Regions from separate parts of the Homo sapiens genome. Here regions 1, 3, 4, 5, 6 and 7 are each linked to region 2. Evidence: promoter capture Hi-C in 16 types of primary human blood cells and fetal thymus (Javierre and others, 2016). All regions are on one chromosome and are shown on one strand. Each heading gives the region's core, a stretch centred on a gene start or on the middle of the fragment in contact. The rest is flanking DNA. Distances are from core to core; before and after follow the strand shown. Region 1 has its middle 2.6 kb from the start of TMEM232. Region 2 holds the start of MAN2A1 (mannosidase alpha class 2A member 1). Region 3 holds the start of STARD4-AS1 (STARD4 antisense RNA 1). Region 4 overlaps SLC25A46 (solute carrier family 25 member 46). Region 5 has its middle 140 kb from the start of FBXL17. Region 6 has its middle 47 kb from the start of LINC01023. Region 7 has its middle 89 kb from the start of LINC01023.

Evidence for each region. Contacts are between HindIII fragments. The CHiCAGO score rates a contact against its expected background, and 5 or more counts as called.
Region 1: a fragment that was not itself captured here is called in contact with the fragment with the promoter of MAN2A1 in region 2 in 1 of 17 cell types (total CD8 T cells); the score reaches 6.4 in total CD8 T cells.
Region 3: a contact is called between the fragment with the promoter of STARD4-AS1 here and the fragment with the promoter of MAN2A1 in region 2, in 1 of 17 cell types (activated CD4 T cells). The highest score is 6.0, in activated CD4 T cells.
Region 4: a contact is called between a fragment that was not itself captured here and the fragment with the promoter of MAN2A1 in region 2, in 2 of 17 cell types (naive CD8 T cells and naive CD4 T cells). The highest score is 6.2, in naive CD8 T cells.
Region 5: a fragment that was not itself captured here is called in contact with the fragment with the promoter of MAN2A1 in region 2 in 4 of 17 cell types (endothelial precursors, erythroblasts, M0 macrophages and 1 more); the score reaches 9.8 in endothelial precursors.
Region 6: a contact is called between a fragment that was not itself captured here and the fragment with the promoter of MAN2A1 in region 2, in 10 of 17 cell types (M2 macrophages, total B cells, naive B cells and 7 more). The highest score is 15.8, in M2 macrophages.
Region 7: a contact is called between a fragment that was not itself captured here and the fragment with the promoter of MAN2A1 in region 2, in 3 of 17 cell types (M2 macrophages, M1 macrophages and M0 macrophages). The highest score is 11.0, in M2 macrophages.

Annotation. Positions count from the first base shown.
Region 1 is chr5:110,727,482-110,731,025 of GRCh38, forward strand. It overlaps a transcript of TMEM232 not described here. Among named protein-coding and RNA genes, the nearest start is that of TMEM232, 2.6 kb to the left of the region's middle. The HindIII fragment of the contact is 1,678 bases long and covers 989-2,666 here.
Region 2 is chr5:109,687,917-109,691,176 of GRCh38, forward strand. It overlaps MAN2A1 (mannosidase alpha class 2A member 1), which reads left to right and starts at 2,011. Exons shown (of 22, transcript NM_002372.4): 1 at 2,011-2,636. The coding sequence starts at 2,502. MAN2A1-DT (MAN2A1 divergent transcript) reads right to left here and starts at 3,183. Exons shown (of 1, transcript NR_186543.1): 1 at 1-3,183. RefSeq lists enhancers at 667-1,335, 1,095-1,194 and silencers at 1,305-1,594, 1,605-2,124, 2,155-2,364, 2,775-2,874. The HindIII fragment of the contact is 3,132 bases long and covers 868-3,260 here.
Region 3 is chr5:111,510,724-111,514,093 of GRCh38, forward strand. STARD4-AS1 (STARD4 antisense RNA 1) reads left to right here and starts at 1,503. Exons shown (of 7, transcript NR_040093.1): 1 at 1,503-1,785. It overlaps STARD4 (StAR related lipid transfer domain containing 4), which reads right to left and starts at 1,812. Exons shown (of 6, transcript NM_139164.3): 1 at 1,662-1,812. RefSeq lists enhancers at 1,447-1,656, 2,137-2,276 and a silencer at 1,687-2,056. The HindIII fragment of the contact is 3,364 bases long and covers 327-3,370 here.
Region 4 is chr5:110,744,002-110,747,754 of GRCh38, forward strand. SLC25A46 (solute carrier family 25 member 46) reads left to right here. Exons shown (of 8, transcript NM_138773.4): 4 at 2,268-2,345. Among named protein-coding and RNA genes, the nearest start is that of SLC25A46, 6.9 kb to the left of the region's middle. The HindIII fragment of the contact is 6,336 bases long and covers 1-3,753 here.
Region 5 is chr5:108,523,030-108,526,252 of GRCh38, forward strand. No RefSeq gene overlaps it. Among named protein-coding and RNA genes, the nearest start is that of FBXL17, 140 kb to the left of the region's middle. The HindIII fragment of the contact is 1,183 bases long and covers 893-2,075 here.
Region 6 is chr5:108,679,919-108,683,506 of GRCh38, forward strand. No RefSeq gene overlaps it. Among named protein-coding and RNA genes, the nearest start is that of LINC01023, 47 kb to the right of the region's middle. RefSeq lists an enhancer at 1,477-1,977. The HindIII fragment of the contact is 1,731 bases long and covers 1,126-2,856 here.
Region 7 is chr5:108,637,562-108,640,864 of GRCh38, forward strand. No RefSeq gene overlaps it. Among named protein-coding and RNA genes, the nearest start is that of LINC01023, 89 kb to the right of the region's middle. The HindIII fragment of the contact is 1,523 bases long and covers 687-2,209 here.

The sequences.
Region 1 (3,544 bases), core at 578-3,077, 1.0 Mb after region 2:
ACCTATAATCCCAGCTACTCAGGAGGCTGAGGCAGGAGAATTGCTTGAACCCAGGAGATGGAGGTTGCAGTGAGCCGAGATCATGCCACTGCACCCCAGCCTGGGAAACAGAGCGAGATTCCATCTAAAGAAAAAAAAAATACTAAAACGTAATATACAGGGATTGTCCTGTGAAATGACCTGCCTTTAAAAATTAGAACTTTGAAAGAAAATTTAACTTGAACTACTTCGATTCGGAATTAAGTTTTTTTGTTTTTTGAGTGCATTTTTATGTTTAAAACAGAAATTACAATATGTGATCTCAGGCTTCTCTGACGTATCACTCCTAGAAGATCAGTAAGTTAAAGGTAATAATGAAAAGTGAAATTGACAAAGACTATAAACTACATATGTGAGAGAACAAATCCTAGAATATCAACAGTGCTTACCATAATCCAGATAAAATAAAAATGAAAAGACTGTGGTATTTAATAATAGCCTGGGGGCTTGCTTGTTTTAATTTCAAGAGATCTAGAAAAGTGTTAAAAGCATAAAAAAATACAAACTGTTAACCAGGTTATTCATAATCAAATGAAGATTGAATTAAAAAGGAATAAAAGGAAGGCCGAATAAAAAATTCTTCTCCATAATATAAGAATCAGTTGAAACTATAGCATGTTTAGAGAAAAAAAGTCACCCCATCGATTCTACAGTGAAGACAACAGAACAAGTTTATATAAGGAAGAATTCACAAATACATATATATATATATTACACATATCTACTTATTCTAAATATATCTACTGATTTTATATATGTATCTACTGATTTTATTTATATATATATCAGTAGAATGAAAGATTACAGAAAAAGCATAAAATTTATATATGATAAATTTGCCATTTTAACTCAGTGGGGAAAAACTGTACAGAGGCTGAGCACAATTTGAAAGAAAATAAATCTGAACTACTATCTCATACCATAGCAACAATAAATCTCAGAGGAATGAAGCTTAAAACAGGAAATAATTTTAAATAATTTTAAGATAATATTGGTATAACCTTAGAGTCACAATAATATTAAGCTAATAGGAGACCCACAATGATTTTAAAAAATGACAAGAATATTTAGAAAATTTATGTAAGAAAAATAAATCTAATAAAGTCATACCTCCCCTTTCTCCCTTTAATTAGTCATCTACATTGAAGTTTTGACAAGACAAATCTAATTTTTTCAAATTATTATATATATACCTATATATATATAATCCTAAAATGGCCATTAATTAGCAATTAGGAAAATAAGCATGTCAAAACCATCCTAACCCCTTAGTATGGCACAATTATGCTTTCAGAAACTATATCATTGCCTACTTGCCCAGTTTTTTTCTGCTTTTTTTTTTTTTACCAGTCTTTTTTATTTTATTTTATTATTATTTTTTGAGATGAAGTCTCGCTTTTGTCCCCCAGGCTGGAGTGCAATGGAGCGATCTCAGCTCATTGCAACCTCCACCTCCTGGGTTCAAGCGATTCTCCTGCCTCAGCCTCCCGAGTACCTGGGATTACAGGCGCCTGCCACCACGCCTGGGTAATTTTTGTATTTTTGGTAGAGACAGGGTTTCACCATGTTGGCCAGGCTGATCTCGAACTCCTGACCTCAGGTAATCCACCCACCTTGGCATCCCAAAGTGCTGGGATTAAAGGCGTGAGCCACCGTGCCTGGCCCAGTCTTCTTTATTTTTAAAACTTTTTCCACTGCTATGTAATCAATTAAAAAATATTTTAAGTTTCCTAAACATATCATGAGCTCTCGTTTCTTAATAACCTCATGCATGCTCTTCCTCTGTCTGAAAATATACTTGCCCACTCACTCCTCAACTGCTGCCACAAACTCACACAAACGCATACCACCCCCTGCTCCCTAATAACCACACACCAGGTAAATGCTTACTCTTGATCAAGACTCGGATGTTAGACATTTGTCAACATTTTGGATCTGGAGAATCCAATCACCCTTCCATGCTACCTGGGGAATTCTTCATGTAATATGAATGGGAAGTGGTGTTTCATCATCCACTACAAAAGCCAAAAACGGCAGATTATATTTTCTCAGAACTCTGTGTTGGAATATGACAGAAGTTTGGCCAAGTATGTGTTCTAGTTTAAGAATTTGAATTTTTAGCAGATAATATCAAGATGAAAGTAGCAATAACTGTGCCTTGGGCCATGATAGCAGCACCCTTACAGATTTTCCTGCCAAAAGACAGTTGTGGTACCTCCTGCTTCTTGGTCCTCTAGAACAGCATTTTTTTTTCCTGTCCATTTCAATCCTTGACTTACAGCCTTCCATCAATTCTATAAACCCTGATTATCCTGTCAAATCTTCTGTTTAAAGTAACAAATTGAGTTTCTGTTATCTTCAACCAAAGTGACACATTCACCTGGGAAGACACCTCATTTTAGAAGCCTTCCAACGCAATGACTGTTCTCTCAGGATAACTTAGAAGACATCCTTCAATGTTTCCTTAGCATTCTGAGTGCTCTTATATAGCACTTATCAAAATTTTACCTAGAGAAATCTACCTAGTGAGTACTCATTAAAAAGTCAGGAAAGAGATGAAACTATTAGTAAGTTACACAATTTAAAATATGCATTATATTTTCTTCAATCATATTTCTCAAACCTTAAGCTTCAGTCCTCCAGTTGCTTGGAATCAAGGCTATTAGCATCTTCACTGACACGATTCAAATTAGTCCATAATACTGCAATTACCTTCCTAGATTAGAATTGATTTTCCAGGGAAAACAATCTGACACCAAAAGTGAATCATAGGAAAAAACTATAGCCATGAAAAAATATTTATCAGTTTGAACTGTTGCATTAGAATTAATATTGATTTTGTAATTTAACAACTTTCTAGATGACAATTTCTTAACTATTTTTGATATTATGTGATATCAGTTTAGTTTTGCCATGGAGTGTATAACTTAATTGTAAATAATTTCTATTTGATACTGTATTAGTTTGTTTTCATGCTGCTGATAAGTACATACCCAAAACTGGGAACAAAATGAGGTTTAATTGGACTTACAGTTCCACATGGCTAGGGAGGCCTCAGAATCATGGCGGGAGGTGAAAGGCACTTCTTACATGGTGAAAGCAAGATAAAAATGAGGAGGAAGTAAAAGCAGAAACCCCTGATAAACCCATTAGATCTTGTGAGACTTATTCACCATCACGAGAATAGCACAGGAAAGACTGGCCCCCATGATTCAATTACCTCCCCCAGGTCCCTCCTACAATACACGGGAATTCTGGGAGATATAATTCAAGTTAAGATTTGGGTGGAGACACAGCCAAACCAGATCATTCTGCCCCTGGCCCCTCCAAATCTCATGTCCTCACATTTAAAAACCAATCACGCCTTCCCAACAGTACCCTAAAGTCTTAACTCATTTCAGCATTAACCGAAATGTCCACAGTCCAAAGTCTCATCTGCAACAAGCCAAGTCCCTTATGCCTATGAGCCTGTAAAATCAAAAGCAAGCTAGTTACTTCCTAGATA
Region 2 (3,260 bases), core at 761-3,260:
CAGAATATCTCTGGTTCTCATACCATAACTCTGAGAGTTAAAAAACCTGTGCTTGTCATTTCTCTTTATAACCACTCAAAAGCACGCAAAAGAATCCATCCCACACCAGTCTTTCTAGTCATCTTTATAACCATAGCAGTCAAGTGTAGCAGCCACTTGGGGCCCCAAGGCACAGGCTTCAGTTGGCACTTCATCAGGATCAACCACAGGTAATTGCTTAATTGAGATGCCCAGCATGTCATGAATTACATTTCCCTTTGGCAAGGAGCTAAAGCTCAAAACCTCAATCAAACTGACCTTTAATCCCATCTTTGCAGGTCTATTTCTTGGGACTACTCCCGGGACAGGGAAGGCTTAATAAAAAGAATTGTTAACTATAATAGAGGATTAGAGTAATGAAGGATTCACTAGCAAGAAGAGAACTTTAAAGAATATAGCAACAGCAGCTATAAGGAGCTAACCTTATAACTAACTCTTGGGTTGAGAGACAGAGTGCCCAATGAAGAACCTCCCCAATTCCTCCCAGGGCTAAGATCTAGACGTTTTTGGAGAGGGCATGACCTGGCTCACTGAATGGCAGAGAAGTCACCATTGGGCTACGTCTGCAAAGCTTGTGGAAGATGTGCCCTCTGCAACTTGCTGCAAATGCCTCTAGGGTGCCAGGGAAGTTATTCATGGGGTAGTGTCTCACCTCCTCTACAAAGCTCCTAGAGTTGGGCATGTGAGAGGAAATTGCTAGTTACTGAGCACTATAGGACCTTGGCAGTGGAGAAAGCCAGGTATGCTGCAAAAGCTTATCAATACACAGAAATCAGGAAGCAAAATCCTTTTTTTCTGTAATGTCTCTTCAGCGCCCTCTGCTGATAAAGCTTCAGTCCCAGAAGGCAAACGAAAAACTGTTTAAAAGGCTCAGATCCGTTTTTACAGTGCAGTCAAAAAGGGCGAATTTGGAGCTGAGAGGCAATAAATCAATAACTGGCAGAAGCATCACTTCTCAGATTACACTCATGGATTTCGTAGTCAGATGTTTCTACATGTGCCTGGACGGCCCTTTGTCAGTCTCCTTTCCCCCAGGTTTTAACAGGCTGTCACCAAAGGAGGAAATAGTGAGCCCGAAGAGAATGTGCAAGCCCTCTTCTCTTGCATTTCCTCCAGCCCGTCACCAAGTACTCTTCCAGGCACGCCAGGCCCGAGTGTCCTAGGATAGGAAACCTGAGCAACAAAGGGAAGTGGGGTGTAAGCTCAACCCCTGTTGGACGTGGGGGTGCTGGCGCCTGAACGCCCCCGAAGGCCTCAACTCCCAGAAAGCTGCCTGCCAGGTCACAAGAGCCCTGTGAGGTCTTCCTATCGCCGGGACACTGGGAGGCAGGCGCGGGGCGGGTCCGCCGGGCGACGCGCTGTGATTGGGCGCCGTGGGGCCCGCCCCCTCATCTCGGAGCGTCGGGAGGGGGCGGGGCCAGCCGCCCGCTCGGCTCAGGCGCTGCGGGCGCCTATTGACCCAGCGGCTGCTGCGCCGCCGCTGTCTCCTCCTGCTCGTGGCGGGCGGTGCTGGAGCGCCAAGTGGCGCTGGAGAACCGGCGCTTCCTTTCGCCGCTTCCGCCGCCATCTCCGCGTTTGTGGGGCGGGAAAGAGGGAGGGGGCTAGCGGCTGCAGCTGGAGCGGGCTTCTCTCCGGGGACGGTCCTTTCCTCCCTGCTCTCCTTTTCCTTCTTTCCGCGTTGCCGCCGCCCGCCCCCTGCGCCTCCCCGCGGAGCCTGGGTCCGGGAGGGGGAAGGTAGGGGCGGCGGGGGGCGGGAGAGTCTGGCGAGCGGACGCTAGCTCTGAGGAAACTCATCAATCCGTGAGCCCCGGAGTCCGGGGTGCACATCGGCCCAGCCGCAGCGTCGGCGGCGGCGGCGGCAGCAGCACGAAGGGGCTCAGTCGGGGTAGGCGGGGGCGGTGCCGGTGCCGCGGGGGCGGGCCCGACCGTCCCGCCCAGAAGTTGTAGGGCTTGGCTCCTCGCGATCTTGTTCCTTTCCCCTCCGCTTCTCTGACCTAGCTGCGCGGCCCCGGCCCGGGAGCTGCCGAACCCGCGCCTCCCCTGGGTGAGGAGGACACGCCTGCCCTCGTCGAGAAAACTTTTCCTGCCGACTCAGTTGGGGCGGCGGTGGCAGGAAGTGCGGGCAGCGACCTCTCCTCCGCCTGCCCCGCGCGCCCTGCCGGAGGTCGGCGCTGAGCTTGCGATCAAGTTTGTGGGGGCCCCCCTTCCCAGTTGCCGGCGAGTCTCGCCTCGAGAGGGGCGCCCGACCCCGGGGAGGGCGGCAGGCCAGGGCGAAGGCCAAGGGCGTGTGGTGGCGCCGGAGACTAGGTGCGGAGCAAGGCGGGGACTCGCACCCGCATCCGAGAGCGCGGAGGTCGCGCAGCCCGGGAGAAGGGAGCCTCCGGCGGCTGCTTCCTAGAGTCCACAGTGCGCTGTCTCCTTTGGCTGAGGAGAGTGTCCTGGCCCCGAGTCTATCGAGGAAAATGAAGTTAAGCCGCCAGTTCACCGTGTTCGGCAGTGCGATCTTCTGTGTGGTGATTTTCTCGCTCTACCTGATGCTGGACCGGGGTCACTTAGACTACCCCAGGAACCCGCGCCGCGAGGGCTCCTTCCCTCAGGTAAGCACCTGGGAAGGGGGCGCGGGGCTCCGAGGGGCCAGGCGTGCGGGCCCCTGGTTAGCGGCTGCTACCCAACCTCTTCCTCCCGCCGCGGCCCCACACCCGTGCTGGGCGAGGCCAGGGGCTCTGTAGCTCTCGGACGGCAATGATCACCTCCTGGGAGCCACCTCGCCCGGGCGCGCCAAGTTAACAAAGTGCTGGGCGGCGTGCGGCGGCGGCGGCGGCATCATCCCGCTCAGGAAAGTGGCCATGTTCCGGCATTCGCACCCGGCCTGTTGGGGTGGCTTCGGGCACCTGCTGGCGGGGGAACGGGCGCGGCGTGAGGCACCCCCCGCCAGCCCGGGGCCCGCGTATCCCGGTGGGGTCGTTCTCGGCTCTCACAGGGTTAAGCCGCCCGCACCAGCCCAGAGCCCCTGAGCGCACGGAGTCGCGGAAATGGATCAAACCGAACCCACCTAGGCTTTTTTTTCTTTTTCTTCCCCGCTGCCTCTGAAGAGAGAGAAGTTTATTTCGTGTTGCGGCCCTTTTAGATGTGAATCTCTAGGTTGATTTTAGTGTCGTCATTCTTCAGCTATTACATCTGGTTTGTTTGTGGCAGACAGGGGGAACCGAGTGGGGAAGCGC
Region 3 (3,370 bases), core at 253-2,752, 1.8 Mb after region 2:
TCAAGTTACTTTTCTTGAGGCCATCTATCAGCACCATAGTCTTGACCAATCCAACTCCAATTATTCTCAAATATCTGTCACAGTGAGATGGCATAGGTTCTATTTTAAATATGGAACATAATAAAACATTTAACCTGTAATGTAAAGTGAATGCCATAAAAATCTGTTTGGACTTTTGTAGTACGACTAGGTCAGAATTCACTTGTTAAAGAAATGCAGGTATCAGAACGGTCTAACCTTGCATTACTTGATTAATATGGTTTTCACTTCCGTCAACAGCTTCAGTTTAACATGCCATGGACTTTCCCCAATGTCATACAAACCAAAGCTTTGTAAATTAAATTATATTTTCTAACTAACATAAAAATTTCAGCATATGCTTGATTTCCAATCAATGTTGAACTGTTAAGTTTTCTAACTCAGACAAGTACAGCAGCTTCTCATTTTTTGAGACTGGCTCTGGCAGGAGCTCACTATTTAAAGAAATGCAACATGGAAGTATATTTCTACAATATGAATAGTGAGCCAACTTACTGTTCAAACCCCTAATGCTCTAATACTTGATTAAAAAAAAAACCTAATGCTCTGTACTTGATTTTAAAAAATAACAATAACATTTATTGATCACTTACTACATGGTCAGTCCTTCTGGCTGCTTTACATTGCATTTATTTTATTTAATCCTCACAACAGTAATAGTCCTCCTTGAGAAAATGTGTTTCATTATGGTAAAGGAATTTTAGTTATTCAGAAGCTCTAGGATTGGTGTAAATGGGCATACTTTAGATATCTTGAGGTCTTCCATAAGTGAGAATAGTAGCTTAATGTCTATACATTTTCCCTGTTTTACAGAAAGGGAAAATAGCAACAGGAAGGTTGAGTCACTTGTCCAAGATCACACAGTTCATAAGTGATGGAGCCAGAATTCCAACCCAGGGCGTCTGACTTCAGAGCCTAAAGCTCTCTCTTGTAAAACTGTGGAAGCTGATCACAGGCTGGAAAAGACTTCATATAAAAAACCTGGGCCCACCAAATATTTGTCAAGTTTTGTCCTGGCTGCTGAACCTAAAAATCTAAGGTAATCTTTCTCAAGTGTAAATTCGGGAAAACAATGACACTGATTTGGTGAGAAATTATTTGAGTTAATACATTTAGCAGGGACCTTGGAAGGCAGTAAGCCCTGGGAAAACTTTGTCTCTTGTCTTTGGCATCACCTCCGCGAAGCCTGGTGGGACGCGGCTGCCCCTGCGCTGTCTGTGCACCTCCTAAGAACCAGGAAGCGCGGTGACCTCCAAAGAACAGGACTGTCCCAAATCAAGCGGGATTACCACCGCCCCTCTCCCATTTAACAGCTGAGGACACTGAGGTCTAATGGATTCCAAGTACTTAAATAGGTGAGCGGCGCGCAGGGGCGAGTTGCAAGCCCTGGGATCCTTCCAGCTCGCCGCTTCCCCTCCCAGGGGCTCAGGTTTCTCTTTCATCTGTGAGGTCCTCTCCCGCCCGGACGCCGGGGCCCGCCATCCCCAACGTCCACCGCGAGCTCCCCAGATCCATGGTCTGGAGCAGGTCCAGAAGACGCACCTGGCAGGACGCCCCGGGCGCCACAGTCGCCCTCCACACGGGCCACCCCAATCCTGCCGCGGCTCCGTGGCTCTCCTTACCTTTACCTGAGGTGAAGCAAGGACGTGGAAGCAGCTACGGCGCGCTACCAAGCACCTCACACCGCTCTCAACAGTACTGCTCAGCCTCCCGGCCCGCCGATGCGCAGGCGACAGCAGCCAACTTGTAAGTCACCGCTGGTCGCAGCCAACTGGAAGGCACCCAGCGCCTCAGGGCAAGGCGGGCCGAGCCCCCAGCCCCGCCCCCTGGCCCGATCCCGGGGGCTCCGGGGAGGGGGGGCTGAGAGGAGGTGGCCGGAACAACGTGCGCTTGTTCGGATTGGCTGGCGCGGGAGCGTGTGGAGGGCTGATTGGTGGCCGATAAATGGAATGATTCCGCGTGGGTGTGGGCTGGCCCGAGCCGCGCCAGGGTTCCCTGGATGTCTGGGGTTGCCTGCAGGTTTGGATTGGTTGGGTTGGGTTGTCCTGTGATCACTTAATTGTGAAAGAATTTTGTCAAGCAGTAAACCGACTGGGAGAAATTGAAACAGAAGGCGAAGTGAAGGATCACAGTGAGGGATAAGGTCCAAATTCATCCCGCTTGTGGATATCCTAGTATCTCGCAACTACGCTACTCCTCCCAGGACTAAAAGTCAAATAAGAAAAAGCGCCCATGCAGAGGAGGACGAGCTCTCTGCCTCCTGCTTAGCCTGACTCAGAACTGAGAGAGCTGGGAAGGAAAATGCATATAAACGAAAGTCCCTGCCACTATGTGAATTGACCTTTAGCCAAATACGTTTGTGTGTGTGTGGGTGTGGGTGTGTGTGGGTGCGTGTGTGTGTTTCCATCCTCAGATAAAGAGTTTAGAGGGCAACCTTAGAAGCAGAGAAAAGGAGGAGGTGTGACAAGTGGATTTAGCAACTGCACAGTTTTGGAGTTTCCATCTACTCGAACATGAGAAAGATTTCTTCCAGTGGCTGTGAAGTCACCCATCTGATGGGATGCTTGGCAAACAGTGAATTTCTTCCTTTACCAGAGTAGCCATGATGCACTGATTAGCGAGGCTTGGTTTGTCTGCAAATTGCGTTTACTAAGATACGTAGTTTGAGAACCAAAAGCAGGGAAGAATGCAGTGCTACACCATTAGTGATTTCTGATAGACTTGCAATGAAAATAAATAATATTTCGTAAATTTTTAAGTCGGCCTCACCAAAAGAATTACCAAATACTACTTGCTAGTTATTATTGGCCGATTTATTTTTTACCTCCATCGTTTATATGTAAAATAATTTGTTTTATATTTATATTTATAATTTCGTGTGACATAATAGAAGAGTTCTTCGTGTGTTGTAAAGCTCCTTTCACTTAGGAATTATTGGCCAATTATTGAGGTGCTTTGGATGGATGGATGAATACGTAGATAAATAATTTGAAATGGTTGGGGAAAAGTGCTTTGTAATTAAGTTGTACCTACTTAATTCAATTACATTGAATCCTCTTAACAGCCCCCTAAGGTAGGTGTGTTTTACAGGCGAGGAGCCCCAGACATAAATCTTAAGGCAGGTTGCTTAATTACTGAGTGGAGAAACTGGAATTTGGCTGAGGTCTGCTGGACTCTGAAACTGGGCTCTTAGTCTCCATAAAATTCAGATGGTGCTTGGTAGCTCTTTGTCAAGGCACCTGTGAAGACCACTGGGACCATAAATGAAAGGCCTAATTCCTACTGTGAGGGTTTACACAGGTTTAATGGTGGAGAGGAATAAATCCACGTA
Region 4 (3,753 bases), core at 982-3,481, 1.1 Mb after region 2:
CAGAAATTAAAATTGGGAAAATTTCAATGCATCTATATAATTCATTAAAATAATAACACCTGTTAGTAAGATAATATGTTTTTATGAAAGTAACTATTTTGCATTTTTGCAAATATCTTTAATATCTGACATAATAGGAGAGAGCCAGTTTCTCTCGTATGCTTCTGCAGTCAATCTGTTGCATCACGTGGTTTTTGAAAGAAGCAAGGAAGTTTAGTCTTGTACACATGTATAGTTGAAAGCAGGAGAGGAGTATATTATATTCTTTTGAGATAATTGTGGGTATTCTTTGCAATTGCACCAAAACTCACTGTGTCGCAGTTTCTTAAAGGTTATTTGCAATGTGAAATCAGAAATCATTTTAGTGAACTTTTTATACTTTGTTACATTAAAAAATCCATTTAACTATACTGCATCTTGAATAGATATTTTTACTTATGCCTGATTCCATGTAATTGTGCATAAGTTATTTGAAAAATATTGACCAATTGAGTTACATAGATCTTCCTGTTGTTAAAACATTTGATTATAAAATATCAAAAAATCATCTTCATTAAAAATACTACTGATCTCACTAGAAAAGTCTATAAGTATTGTCAGCTCTTGACGATGCATATAGATTTTCCAAAATTCTGAGTTTTAGTTGAAAATTCAAACTTATCATTGACAGTAAATACTGTTATTTATTTTTGTTTTAATCAACAATCTCACTTTGTTTATTTTTTAAAATATGTCTGTCCTGAAAGTGAATAGGTATAGTCCGTCAATGAGTTTTTCTAAGTAAAAATGATGTTCCGTGAAAAAAGTGGCTAGTTTAGCTTGCAGTTCTATCATACAAGTGCTTTCCTCATGACAGCAATCTTACTTCCTTATGTAACACACAGGATATTAATTAGAAAGAGGATGTGTACTCAAAGGTCAAGGATTCATAAAATTAACATTTTGTTACTTCATTGTCAAGGATATTACTATATGAAGGTTGCTTTTTTCTCTCTATGGGTAAATGAGGTGAAAAATTACTGTAAGTACGAAAATACAGTTTGATGGTGCTGCCTCAATTTGTGCTAATGAGCTGGGAGTTTTACCTACCATTGCTTTTGTACCATTAGTGAAAATGTCAAGACAGTGAAAAAAGGAAATTATATCTTAGTAATCACTAGGAAAATAATTTTGAACTTGTCAAGCCCCTGAAAGGGTAATGGGGCCCTCAGGAGTCAGTGGACCCCACTTGCAAACTCTGTTATAACCCACTTTTTTTTTTTGTTTGTTTGAGACGGAGTCTCGCTCTGTTGCCCAAACTGGAGTGCAGTGGCATGATCTCGGCTCACTGCAAACTCCGCCTCCTGGGTTCACGCCATTCTCCTGCCTCAGCCTCCCGAGTAGCTGGGACTACAGGAGCCCGCCACCGTGCCCAGCTAATTTTTTGTATTTTTAGTAGAGACGGGGTTTCATCGTGTTAGCCAGGATGGTCTCGATCTCCTGACCTCATGATCCGCCCGCCTCAGCCTCCCAAAGTGGTGGGATTACAGGTGTGAGCCACTGCGCCCGTCCTGTTATAACCCACTTTCTCTGTAAAGTAATGCTTCCTGTATTTGTTAGCTGTTAGAGTTCAAAACAGTATAAATCATTATAAATTAATCTGTTCATGCTTAGCACTGAAAAGTATGTATACAGAAATACCATTAAAGTAGCATTGACTGTATGTGCCACAGAACAGTGTATTTCAGATATATATTTTACATTGTAGTAATATTAACATGGAGATCCAATGGATACATTACATATAAGTAACAAATATATTATTTTTAAATGTTTTATGAAATAATACCATTAGAATGTAATACATTCTAATATTTTATTGTTTCACATAATAAATATTGTTTTGACACTCCCCCAGTTGATTTCATATACCAGTCAGTTGCCAAGTACAGTTTGAAAAATGCTTGCCTAAAATGAACATGAGTTGGGAGATGTAATTCAGTTGTTTAAGGCAAACCAAATATCAAATAAGACCCTCTTTATTATATAGTCTACAGTACTGTGTGTATTATGCATTGGTCTTCAGATTGTATTTATATAACCATACATACTGTACTTTTAATAGGTTATTTAAAGCACTTTTAAGAGTAATTTTGCTTATGTGTAATTTATGTTGACTTTGGAATTAACTTTTGTTTATACTGCAATTCCACCATATTTCTTTCATGGCTCTGTTATTTCTTGACAAAACATTAACAGAAAAAAATAATGAAATATCTTTTTTACAGGTTAATTACCATGCTCAGCATTACCATCTCACTCCATTTACAGTCATCAATATTATGTACAGTTTCAACAAAACTCAGGTGAGAATTTTGTCTGGATTCTATTAAAGGTTTATATAAGTGTCATTTGGGTTTAGTAATCATTAAAGCAAGAATAATTACTTTCAGTTTGGTCAATAAAACATCTTAACTGTTGTAGTAAAACTAAAGTAGCACAACGATATGTTTTTGAATCTTTCAAAATGTAATTTAGCAAAAGTACAATTTAATTTAGCAAAACCACAAAGAGCTGTGCTAAGATGATGTCTCTGCTATCAAGAGGCTCATATTTATTCATGGAGACAAAATCTTTGAAGATTGTGCTGCAGTAAGATAAAGGCAATATTAGAAGTACAGAATGCTGTCAGAATACAAAAGAGAAGTACCTTATCAAAACTGGGCTTGGGCACAGTGTATGGCTGGGAAAAACTTTGGGAAAAGAAAGGCCCGAATTGTGTGCTTCTTGTTGAGAAGTCTGACTCTTCATGATGAGGATAGAGAAAAGGTTTTTAAAGTAGACGTGTGAAGGCAGAAGACAAAGAGAGATCATAATGTTTGGGAATGGATTTAATGGAGTACAATGGGAGCTTGAAGTGGGGGTTGAAGAGTAAGAGAAAGATGAAAAAGTAGCCAGAGAAGTAAGCAGGATCCAGATTCTAAAGCACCTTCTAAGAACTGCACACTACTAGATCTTAAAAGCTACAAGAGTACTGTTGAAGGTGTTTTAGCCATGACCAAAATATCTTGAAGACCTTTGGATTGTTTGGCAATATCTATTAAAATTTAAAATGTACATGTTCTTTCACTTCCAGGAACTTATCCCACATAGATGTGCACATATATATGCAAAAATATATATACAAGGATGTCCTATGACATTGCATATAATAGACTGGAAATGATTAAATGTCCATCACTAGGGTACCAGTGAAATAATTATGGTATATTATGGTGAAACACCTTGTAACCTTTAAAAATAAGAGGGTAGCTCTGTGTATACTAATGTGGAATGATCTCCAGGATATTTTTTATGTTTCAAGATAATACTACCTGTTAAAAATAAGCAAAACAAAAATATTTCTATAACATACACACACAGATATACTTGTATATGCATGGATTATCCCGATAAATTTTAAAACTGCTGCTGAGGACTGGGATGAAAAGGAGACAGACTTTTCAGCTGATACCCTATTGCTTCTTTTTAATTCTATCATGTATATCTATTAATAATATAGATAATATAGATAAATAATAGGAGTATTACTGATGGTATCATGCAAAGGGGCAAAACCAGAGACAGTGAAACTTGTAGTCAAATTGATATAAAGTAATAGTGTTAAGTATGGAGAAGAGCATGGATTTGTAAGATACTAAGGGAGTAGAATTTGTAGAACCTGGGGACTGATTAGATAGGAAGAGTGAGATAAAAATGTTTTCTAGATATATT
Region 5 (3,223 bases), core at 234-2,733, 1.2 Mb before region 2:
CTTACTTTTGCTATTTGTTGTCTTGGATCCGTTCTGTTTTTCTCAAGGACCACTTCTGATTCTTCCGTTTTCATAGGATTTTTGTTTCATCTGTATAATACCTTTTTTTCCCCTCAATGGTGATGGTTTCCTAATCTGTCTGTGATTTTGTCTGACAGTGTTGATTTCCAAAGAGCTGGCCTGGAGTGCCTTTGCTGTTTTTCTCATTGGTTCTTTAGCATCATCAGGATGGCTGACCAGGAGCTCTACATCCATGGGGAGTGGGGGCAGACAGGGAGCTGGCCATAACGCAGGAGTGGCCTCCAAATGTCAGAATGGTAGTGGCTGCACACATGTACTCTAATAACTCTAATTCTCCTCTGACAGTTGACTAAATTCCTAAGAGAAGAGCCCCCTGATTTTTTGCCTGGGAATGAAATTCTTGGTATCCTAGAGAGAAGAACCTGGGAGAGGAGCTATTCAGAGGCACAAGGTCCATCACCCCCTCACTCTTTTTGGTTCCCCTTTCCATCTGACTTTCTCATAGTACCTGCTTCCCCAAGCTTCTGCAGAATATCAGCATTCTGATTTCACATGCACAGCTCAGAGTTGTCTTGTCTTTGCTTTATTCAATCTGTCAACAGACTTTCTTTCTTTTTCATTTTCTAGAAATGTCTCAGAATCTCTCCTCCACTGATATGATATGGGTTTAATTCTTTACTATCATTTCACTGAGGTCTAGGGAGAGAGAAGAGATAAGCATTAGTTCTAAATTTGCTATTTGAACCAGAAATCACAATTTGTATCTTGAAGTATAAAAATGTAGTACTTTTCTACGGAATATAGAATGTAGAACTATCTGAATAAGAGATTTTGAGTATTTCACTAGTCTTCAATGTCCTTTAGATTGGGAAGCTTTGGCCTGAGGTAGTTTCTTGCACTGAATTGAAGCCGAGAAATGATATTGCATACCTTCACTGACCTAGTTTTTTTGGTGAAGTTTTACATATGGTATTTAAACTAATGTCTCCTATAAAATGTAAAATACTGACCAAGCGCACAATTGTAAAACACTTGTCAGACCCAGTCTCAGATACAATGGAAAACTTCATAAGAGGCAAAAAAATAGAAGAAAATGAAGAGGGTAATGAACTCATGAGTCAGCCAGAAGAACTTCCTCTATCAGAAAAATGAACACCACGTCTTCCATAAACATTTAATTTCCATTTGAACGTCGCTACTGAGTTTACTATAATTACCTCTTTAGGGAAATGGTTCCACTTTATGACTGTAATTAGCTCCAGGAATATTTTTCCAATTTTCAGTTTGAGTTTGCCCTCTGCTCTTGCCTTACTATTCTTCAGACCTCTTCAATCTAAAGTCTGTTTTCCTCTCAAGTTAGATTTTTTTTTTAGAGTTTTTCTACTTGAAATGTTGTTTCTTTAAATAAATCAGATCTCTTGACCTCTTTCTGTAGTTTCCCTCTCATATCAATAGCTTATCTTTGTTTGTTTCTAGAGTTTAAAGTTCCTCTTAATATTTTATCTCCCAAACTCATTTTTCTTATAATGTATAAGTGAATCTTTTATCCAACTACAAAATAGCACCATCAGAAACCTCTTGCCTTACTTTTCAAATCAGATTTGGGTGACTCTTTCTTTAATAATGTTTCACACTGTATTCAGTATGCTTATAAGTATGTCTCTTGGGGTAAGTTCTTAAGGCAATTTTAAGAATCAGGTGATATTCACTTCCTTATTTGAACTCTCTTTGTCCTGTTTAACCCATAAATTCTGCAAGTGTTAAATTATCAACCAACAAGACTCACAGCTATTCATGCAGACTTTAAGCCCAATAAGTCATCCATCCATCCATCCATCCATCCATCCATCCATCCATCCATTCAACAACAATTTTATTCCAGACACTATGCTACCCACTTGGAAGCAGTAGTGAATTAAAAGTAATGAATTAACAGCCCTTGTTCTCATGGAGCTAGACATCTAGTTTCAACCATGGTAATTCCAACTGTGGTAATGCTATGAAGGAAATGCATGGATAGGATTAACTCTAATGGGACTAGAGGGGTTTAGGAAAGCTTGCTTGAGATTAGAGATGAAATATACAAATCTATTTATTTGTGTGCATGTGTGTAAGTAACATTTAAGAGACATTTTTGGTTTCAGCAGCCATAGTTGTTTGTGTGTGTGTTTTTTAGTAATAGTTTTACTGAGATATACTCCACATATAATATTCACCAATTTTAAATGTACAATTTAATGGCTTTGGCGTATTATATTATTAATTTTTAAAAATTATGGTAAAATGTATATAACATAAAATTTGGCATTAAAAAATTTGACCAAAATGTGGTTATGTGAAAAAAATGGAATTTTAACTATTCTTAAGTGTACAATTCAGTGCCATTAATTACACTCACAATATTATGCAACCATTTCATCACCCCAAACTGAATCTCTATACTCATTAAACAATAACTCCTCTGTTGCGGGAAGTCAGGGACCCCGAACGGAGGGACCGGCTGAAGCCATGGCAGAAGAACATGGATTGTGAAGATTTCATGGACATTTATTAGTTCCCCAAATTAATACTTTTATAATTTCTTATGCCTGTCTTTACTGTAATCTCTAAACACAAATTGTGAAGATTTCATGGACACTTATCACTTCCCCAATCAATACCCTTGTGATTTCCTAGGCCTGTCTTTACTTTAATCTCTTAATCCTGTCAGCTGAGGAGGATGTATGTTTGCCTCAGGACCCTGTGATAATTGCGTTACCTGCACAAATTGTAGAGCACGTGTGTTTGAACAATATGAAATCTGGGCACCTTGAAAGAAGAACAGGATAACAGGAATTATTCACGGAATAAGAGAGATAACCTTAAACTCTGACCACCTGTGAGCCAGGTGGAACAGAGCCATATTTCTCTTCTTTCAAAAGCAAATGGGAGAAATATCGCTGAATTCTTTTTCTCAGCAAGGAACATCCCTGAGAAAGAGAATGCACCCCGAGGGTGGGTCTCTAAAGTGGCCCCCTTGAGTGTGGTCGTCTTCTGTGGTCGAAACTGTAGGGATGAAATAAACCCCAGTCTCCCATAGCACTCCCAGGCTTATTAGGAAGAGGAAATTCCCGCCTAATAAATTTTGGTCAGATCAGTTGCTCTGAAACCCTGTCTCCTTATAAGACGTTATCAATAACAATGGTGCCCGAAACTTCATTAG
Region 6 (3,588 bases), core at 741-3,240, 1.0 Mb before region 2:
TTGTGAATGGTGAGATTACCTTAACCATCCCAAAGGTGTTTACTATCTTCATATGAGGTTTTGGTATTAATAAATCAAATGATTTCTTATTGATGAAAATTTTAGGCAATGTAAAAAATAGAAATTTTTAGAGTAATTAAGTCATGAGAAGGTGCTTTTGGGGCTTTGGGGGAATCCATTAAGCTGCCCTTGCTCTTGAGAGCATCCCCATTTCTTCACTTCTGAAATGACAAGATCTTTCAAAGCCCCAACATGGCTTGAGTGTTTGAAAGCTCTAGGATGATTTTTATTTGTTCTCTCTGATAGAAATGTCAAATGCAGGAGTTTGTGTGACACAAAATGTTTAGGCACACATAGCTGTTGCCATGAACAAAATCTTCTGTATACAAAGGAAGTATTCTGAACTGTTTCCATTTTAGTTTCCAGTAGCCTTTAAAATAACCAAATAAGATCAATCATTAGGGCTTAATGACCCAGAAACTAATGCTGGAAACATTTACTCTTTAATGATGTCTCCTCTTCCTTCCTTGGCCTCCCTAACTAACATAAATTCATCATTTGTCTGTGTCTATGAAGTAAGATCAGATTGACTGGGGGTCTCTTCTCAATATTTTTTTTTTACCTTAACCATGTACTGCAGTTGATCAGAGCAATTAACAGTGATCCAATCCAGACAGAAAGTTATTTTAAATAACCTGACAACCAATCTGAATTCCAACTCTATGAAGGAAACTTGGCCAAAATGTGTTTAGTGTGTTCAAACATAGGCACTATTCAAAATCAAAGCAGAAAAAAAATGAAACTCTGTTAAAAGTGGCTCAAGATGAAGGCATTGCAATTCCCATCTTGAGGGCGGCTGATGAGTTCTTTTCAAGGTGAGGTGTGCCCTAGCATGCAGAGAGGACAGAAAGGGATAAAAGGAACAAATAAGCAAACAGAATGTGCTCTCAGAACTCCCAGCTTGATTTCCTCAAAGAAAAAGTAGAAATAGATCAAATCAAAGCATTCTTTAAAGATGCTGAGGTGGCTTTAACTGACTAAAATGTAGCTTTAAAAAAATCAGTATCCTAAATGCCAGGTGATTAATAAAGGTCAAGCAGGCAACTTCCGGACTTTATCAGTATAAGCTTAGTCGTGTGCCTTTATTAGGAAATGATCAATACCTTCCTACTTAGCAATATTTTAGGGAATATTTTCCTATAATAGGTAAGGTTTTTAAAATATGAAGACAAAAGTGTAGTATAGTTACTTTGTTTTTCTGGTAGAGCTAAGGAAGTAAATGAACCTCACAATAGTCAGTTTATGCACCCAAGTGAGATTAATTGCTTTACTTACACCATTACATTATTACACAATTCTTGTTATGTGGGGTTTTAAAAGTCTTCACTGTTTAAGCTGTTTTCATTTTAGTTATTCTGTTATTTACAACTGAAAGAGAAAACTGGAGAGGTCTTTGTGAATCTCTACCATATTTTTTTATGACTTTTGATTTCAAGAACCAAAATTGAGGATAAACCTGAAGCAAACACTGTTGAAATGGCCTTTGCAGTACAGACTTCATAGGCTAGAGGGCACAATTGTTTTAGCTGGTCCAAGGCAATGGAAAGCAAAACCTAGTCAACTGTTTCTTACACAGTGACCTAGCAGTTTTAAAATTTGGACCAAGAACGTGAAATTGCTCCTCGCTAAAAATCCACATCTGCTGGAAGAAACAGTAGAATAAAATGTGCATTTTCTATAGTAGTTTTGGATGTTTTTTGCAGAGGTCCTGGGCTTGTGAGAAAAAATAGAACACTCCAAAAGGTCCTTTGGTTCAGCAAAATTTTCCTATCTTAGATTTATCAAGCTGTCCACTCAGTTTTCAATGTGGCCTTTTCCTTCTAAAAATAACATCCTCAGCCGGGCGTGGTGGCTCATGCTTGCAATCCCAGCACTTTGGAAGGCCAAGGCGGGCAGATCACCTGAGGTCAGATGTTTGAAACCAGCCTGCCCAACATGGTGAAACCCCGTCTCTACTAAAAATACAAAAAAAAAAAAAAAAAAAAAAAAAAAATTAGCCACGCGTGGTGGCAGGTGCCTGTAATCCAAACTACTTGGGAGGCTGAGGCAAGAGAATCACTCGAACCCGGGAGATGGAGGTTGCAGTGAGCCGAGATCACGCCACTGCATTCCAGCCTGGGCTACAAGAGCAAAACTCCGTCTCAAAAACAAATAAAATAAAATAAAAAATAATAACAGCCCCTCCCTCCAATGTTTGTATGTATATATGCATATAACGTACTTGACAAGGAACTTGGTAAATACTTGACTATCATTAGGAAATTACAGGGTTGATTCTAAGTAGTGAGATTATGTCTTCTATGAAAATGGTTTCTTTTTAAAATGTACACATATTAATAATTTTTTTTTCCTAAAGCAGTTAGTTAGTCAATGATATTGTGTGGCCTTAACATTGTCTCTGCCTTTATTTGTTCCCTTCCTGCTTAGGGCTTTCTGGATCTTCTTTGCTGTTTTACCTTTTTTAATATGAAATGCTTCTGGTTTCTCCTCCTCACATATCATGTATGACCCCAAGTCCCAGATTATTTTTCTCTTTACTCATTTCTTCTGCTTCCTTCATGCCAGCACACCCAGGCAGAAGGAGAGCCACAGGAAAAGTGACCTCCACACTCACAAATTCCTGCTTCATTTCATCATGTTTTTTGCCTCACAAACTACAATTCTTATTCCCAAATTCAAATTTTTTCTTGAGTGATAGTTGTCTTTCTCTTCTTTCTGCACACCCAAAGATCTCAAGTAGGATATTTGGGGACTGATGAAGGGGAGAACTCAAGGAAATGATTGGGGCCTCAAAGAAGCTTCTAGGCCAGGTGTGGTGGCTCATGCCTGTAACCCCAATACTCTGAGAGGCTGAAGTGGGAGGATTGCTTGAGCCTAGGAGTTCAGCGCCAGCCTGGGCAAAAGAAGGAGGCCCTATTTCCACACAAAAAAATTTTTAAATAGCCAGGCATGGTGATGGGTACCTGTGGTCCCAGCAACTTGGGAGGCTGAGATGGGAGAATCGCTTGAGCCCAGCAGGTTGAGGCTACAGTGAGCCGTGATCATGATCATACCACTTTACTCCAGCCTGGGCAACAGACTGAGATCCTGTCTCAAAAAAAAAAAAGAAAAGAAAAGAAAAAAGAAGAAGTTTCTAGATAAGGGATAAATGTCTCATTAGATATGATGTTAAATACTTTTTGAAGCCAATCTTTCCACTTCCACCTATGAAATATATTCCAAACCCATCTGTGGTAGGCAGAATGTTGGGCCTCATGACCTTCTCCCTCTGGAGTCACTCCTGTGAATATGTTACTTTACATGGCAGAATGGACTTGACAGGTGTAATTAAGGTTACTAATCAGCTGACCTAAAATGGAAGGTTATATTGGCTTATCCAAGTAGGCCCAATGGAATCACGTGAGCTCTTAAAAGCAGAGATATTTTTCCAGCTAGTAGTAGAAGATAAAGTCAGATATTCCAAGATGAAAAGGATTAAAAGTGCTGCTGTTAACTTGAAGATTAAGGTAACCATGTCAAGGAAATGGC
Region 7 (3,303 bases), core at 198-2,697, 1.1 Mb before region 2:
TTATTTGAGGGTCTAAAGATGCTTCATGGGAAGGTTTTACTCTAGCTGAGTCTGGAAGATGAACTAAATTGCTACCAAGTAATTGTGGGGAGAAATCGATTCTGGGCAAGAGGAGTTACACAAATAATATGCTAGCAGCAGGACACAGCCTGATACTGGAGAAACTTCTAGCCGTTTGGAGTGACCAGTGCTCCAGATGCAGGCCTAGTAGCTCTGTGCACCAGATCCAGGCAGAGACTGGGACCAGAATGCTACCAGAAGAACCTGGTTCTGTCCTATTCTCTGTGCCCCAGGGCAGCTGCTTGTAAGCCTTGGGGTCTTAGTTTTCTTATTTGGGAATTAAGGAGGTAAAACTAGATGACCTCTATTATTCCTTCCAGCTCCAACTTTCTGTGGTTTTAAGGTAAAATCTAATTAGGTCAAGCTAGAAGCTTTAGCTTGCATTCTGGGCAAAACCAATAAGTATTATGAATTAAGAAGCTGCTAAAGAAATATGTCGATTCTTCGGGGAAGTCTGTAGGGGGGAAGGAGGGAACATGGGGAAAGGGTGGGTGCAAACTTCTGAGCAGACACTGAGTTGAAGAGTATGCATACTAAGCACTACCTAAAAAGGATTAATGTGACTCACTTCTATTCAATTTTTCAAACTTGTGGACTTGTTCAGTTGCTACTGGGATGTGTTCAAAAGCTTCTGCTTTAGTCATTAGATAATTTCTCAATCAATGGCTACTAAATATTCTACTACTATAATGTTCTGGGAAGCATGACATATTTTTAACTTTTAAAGGGTTGTAAGTATAAAAATTCTGAAAATCATTAAATCTAGATACTGCTTAATTGTTACTAATTGACTTTGTCTCAGGGCTGTAAAGTAACCCACATAACCTAAAATTTAAAAAAAAAAAAAATTGGCCAAGAGCAGCAGCTCACACTTGTAATGTCAGCACTTTGGGAGGTTAAGGTGGGAGGATTGTTTGAGGCCAGAACTTTGAGACCAGTCTGGGCAACATAGTGAGACCCCTGTCTCTACAAAAAAATAAAAGGAATGAACTGGACATGGTGGCACATACCTGTGGTCCCAGCTACTTGGGAGACTGAGAGGGGAGGATTGTTTGAACTCAGGAGTTTGAGGCTACAGTGAGCTATGATTGTGCCACTGGACTCCAGCCTGGGCAACAGAGTGAGACCTCATCTTCAAAAAAAGAAAGTGTTTTTAAGAAAGTAAAATGAATCCAAGACAGATAAAAATGACACTGAGGGAAAGTAAAGCATGATCAAAATGAAGAAACGTCCCCTGAAAATGGAATCTTTGAAGATTTTCTGTATCAGAAACCTTACACTAAGGATGCTGGTAATATGGGAGGACTGTGGAGTTTTTGCACCCTGTTTTGAGCCTGAAGAAATTTGGAAGCTCTCTCTATTTACATAAAGGAGGTTTGCATGGCAGAAATGACCATCAGATCCTGATTAATTCTCATTGCCACTGACTCCATGTGACAGTAAAAGACGTTCATATTTTTGAAAGCCCAAGTGCACTCCATGTTTGAAAACAGAATTCATTCATCACGGAAGCTGCCCAGGAAGGGTGCTGGACATAGGTAAAAATCTCAAAGACAGTCCTCTACCCTAATCCAGGGGTATTATCTCCCTGCCATTAGTACATCCCAGAATATTCACATGGATGACTTCTGGAGCCTAAGAAATGCAGAGTGGTAGTGGAGAAATTGGGACTGCAAGGGGAAAATATGTGAAACTCACTTGTTGACAGCTATAATTGGGACTGAAATTGCATACATCCTTCAGTCTGTCTGTAAGGCTCAAACTACATCTTGAAACATGGTCAGTGTCAACAGAGAGCATTGTCCACTCTCACTCACCAATACTCCTCTCACAAGAAGCAAGAGCCCTGCAGTGCCTGGTGACCTACCCACAGCAACCGCTTCCTAATCATCCCCTCCCTCCTATAGCCATCACTCTCTACTAGGAGGAGTTGAGTTGCGTTACAGGAAATGCCTGCCTGGAAAAAGGCGTTAGCCTGTTTCTGTGTGGCTTTAAAGGATGGAATTTATAGACATCTGAGTAGACTGGAATCAGCATGGGCTGCCTAGTTCAACAGTCACTTCTAAATCTCTAGAGAGTTGAATTGGAGGCCTGGATGACCAGTGGTTATGAACATTGCTGAGGAGTAGTTGGGCCTCTGGCTTTTTTAAGCTTCCTTCCAATTCTAGGCTATGACTTAGTGATGTCTTTTGTTCATTTAAATCAGTTGAAGACTTAACAGAATTTAGGAATTGCACAGAAATAAATATTCCCTAGCAATGTCTAAAAATAAAGAACAAAACAAGAAACCTCTTGCTAACTCTAATGATACATTTGTGAATATGTCATTCGTCTGGACTGATGAGTACAGGAAGCCTGTGGTTTGGTGTACTGGAGATGATTGCTTAGCTTAAATTATACAAAGATTTCATTAATATAATTTCCTTGTCTCCTGTATGGATTTCTTTTAGCAGTCCCCATTACTGAAAAGAGAATACAAATCAACAAATAAGTTCTTTTCTCTTCAACAATCTCAATATTAGGTCAGTGAAATTTTTTTAATTTGAAAGTACTTTTTTCACTTCTACTAGTGTAAATAATCCAAGAGTTATTATTATTATTATTATTATTATTATTATTGGTCTTTTTTACCTTCCTTCCTTTGAAAAACCTTCTATTTGTGATTGAAAGATTGGGGAAAAGTAACTATTTTATGGTCCTGGCTGTGTCTAAACCCTAATCTAAAAATTTGCTGGCATTCTCTCATTGAAGTTGTCACAGCTTACATATTTAGTTTTCTATAATATCTCATACACCAAAATCCAAAAACCACAAAAACAAATCTTTCCTTGGTTTTACATCATTTAGATGCTTCAAGGTAATAGGCATCCGTTGTTTGCAAAGCCCATTCTGGGTCTGGATGTGTGCTAGATGAGGTACAAAGATATCACAGGTGAGCTGAGGACAAAACCAGAGCCAGAGCCTCCCATGATGATCAACTTTGCTGTATGTCATGTTCCACAGAGTCATTGCAAGGCTAACTTTGGTCAGAGAGTGCTAAAGTGGAGGTGCCAGAAAGAAGGAGAATGTGGACCCCATGCCGGACACATGTTTGCATATATTATTTCATTTAGTCTTCACACTCACCTTGACTGGTTTATAAATGGAGAATCTTTCATGTCAAGAGGTTAAGTAACTTGCTCAAGGTCAAACAGCTAAGAAGTGACAGCAACAGGATTAAAATCTTGGCTGGGCGCAGTGGCT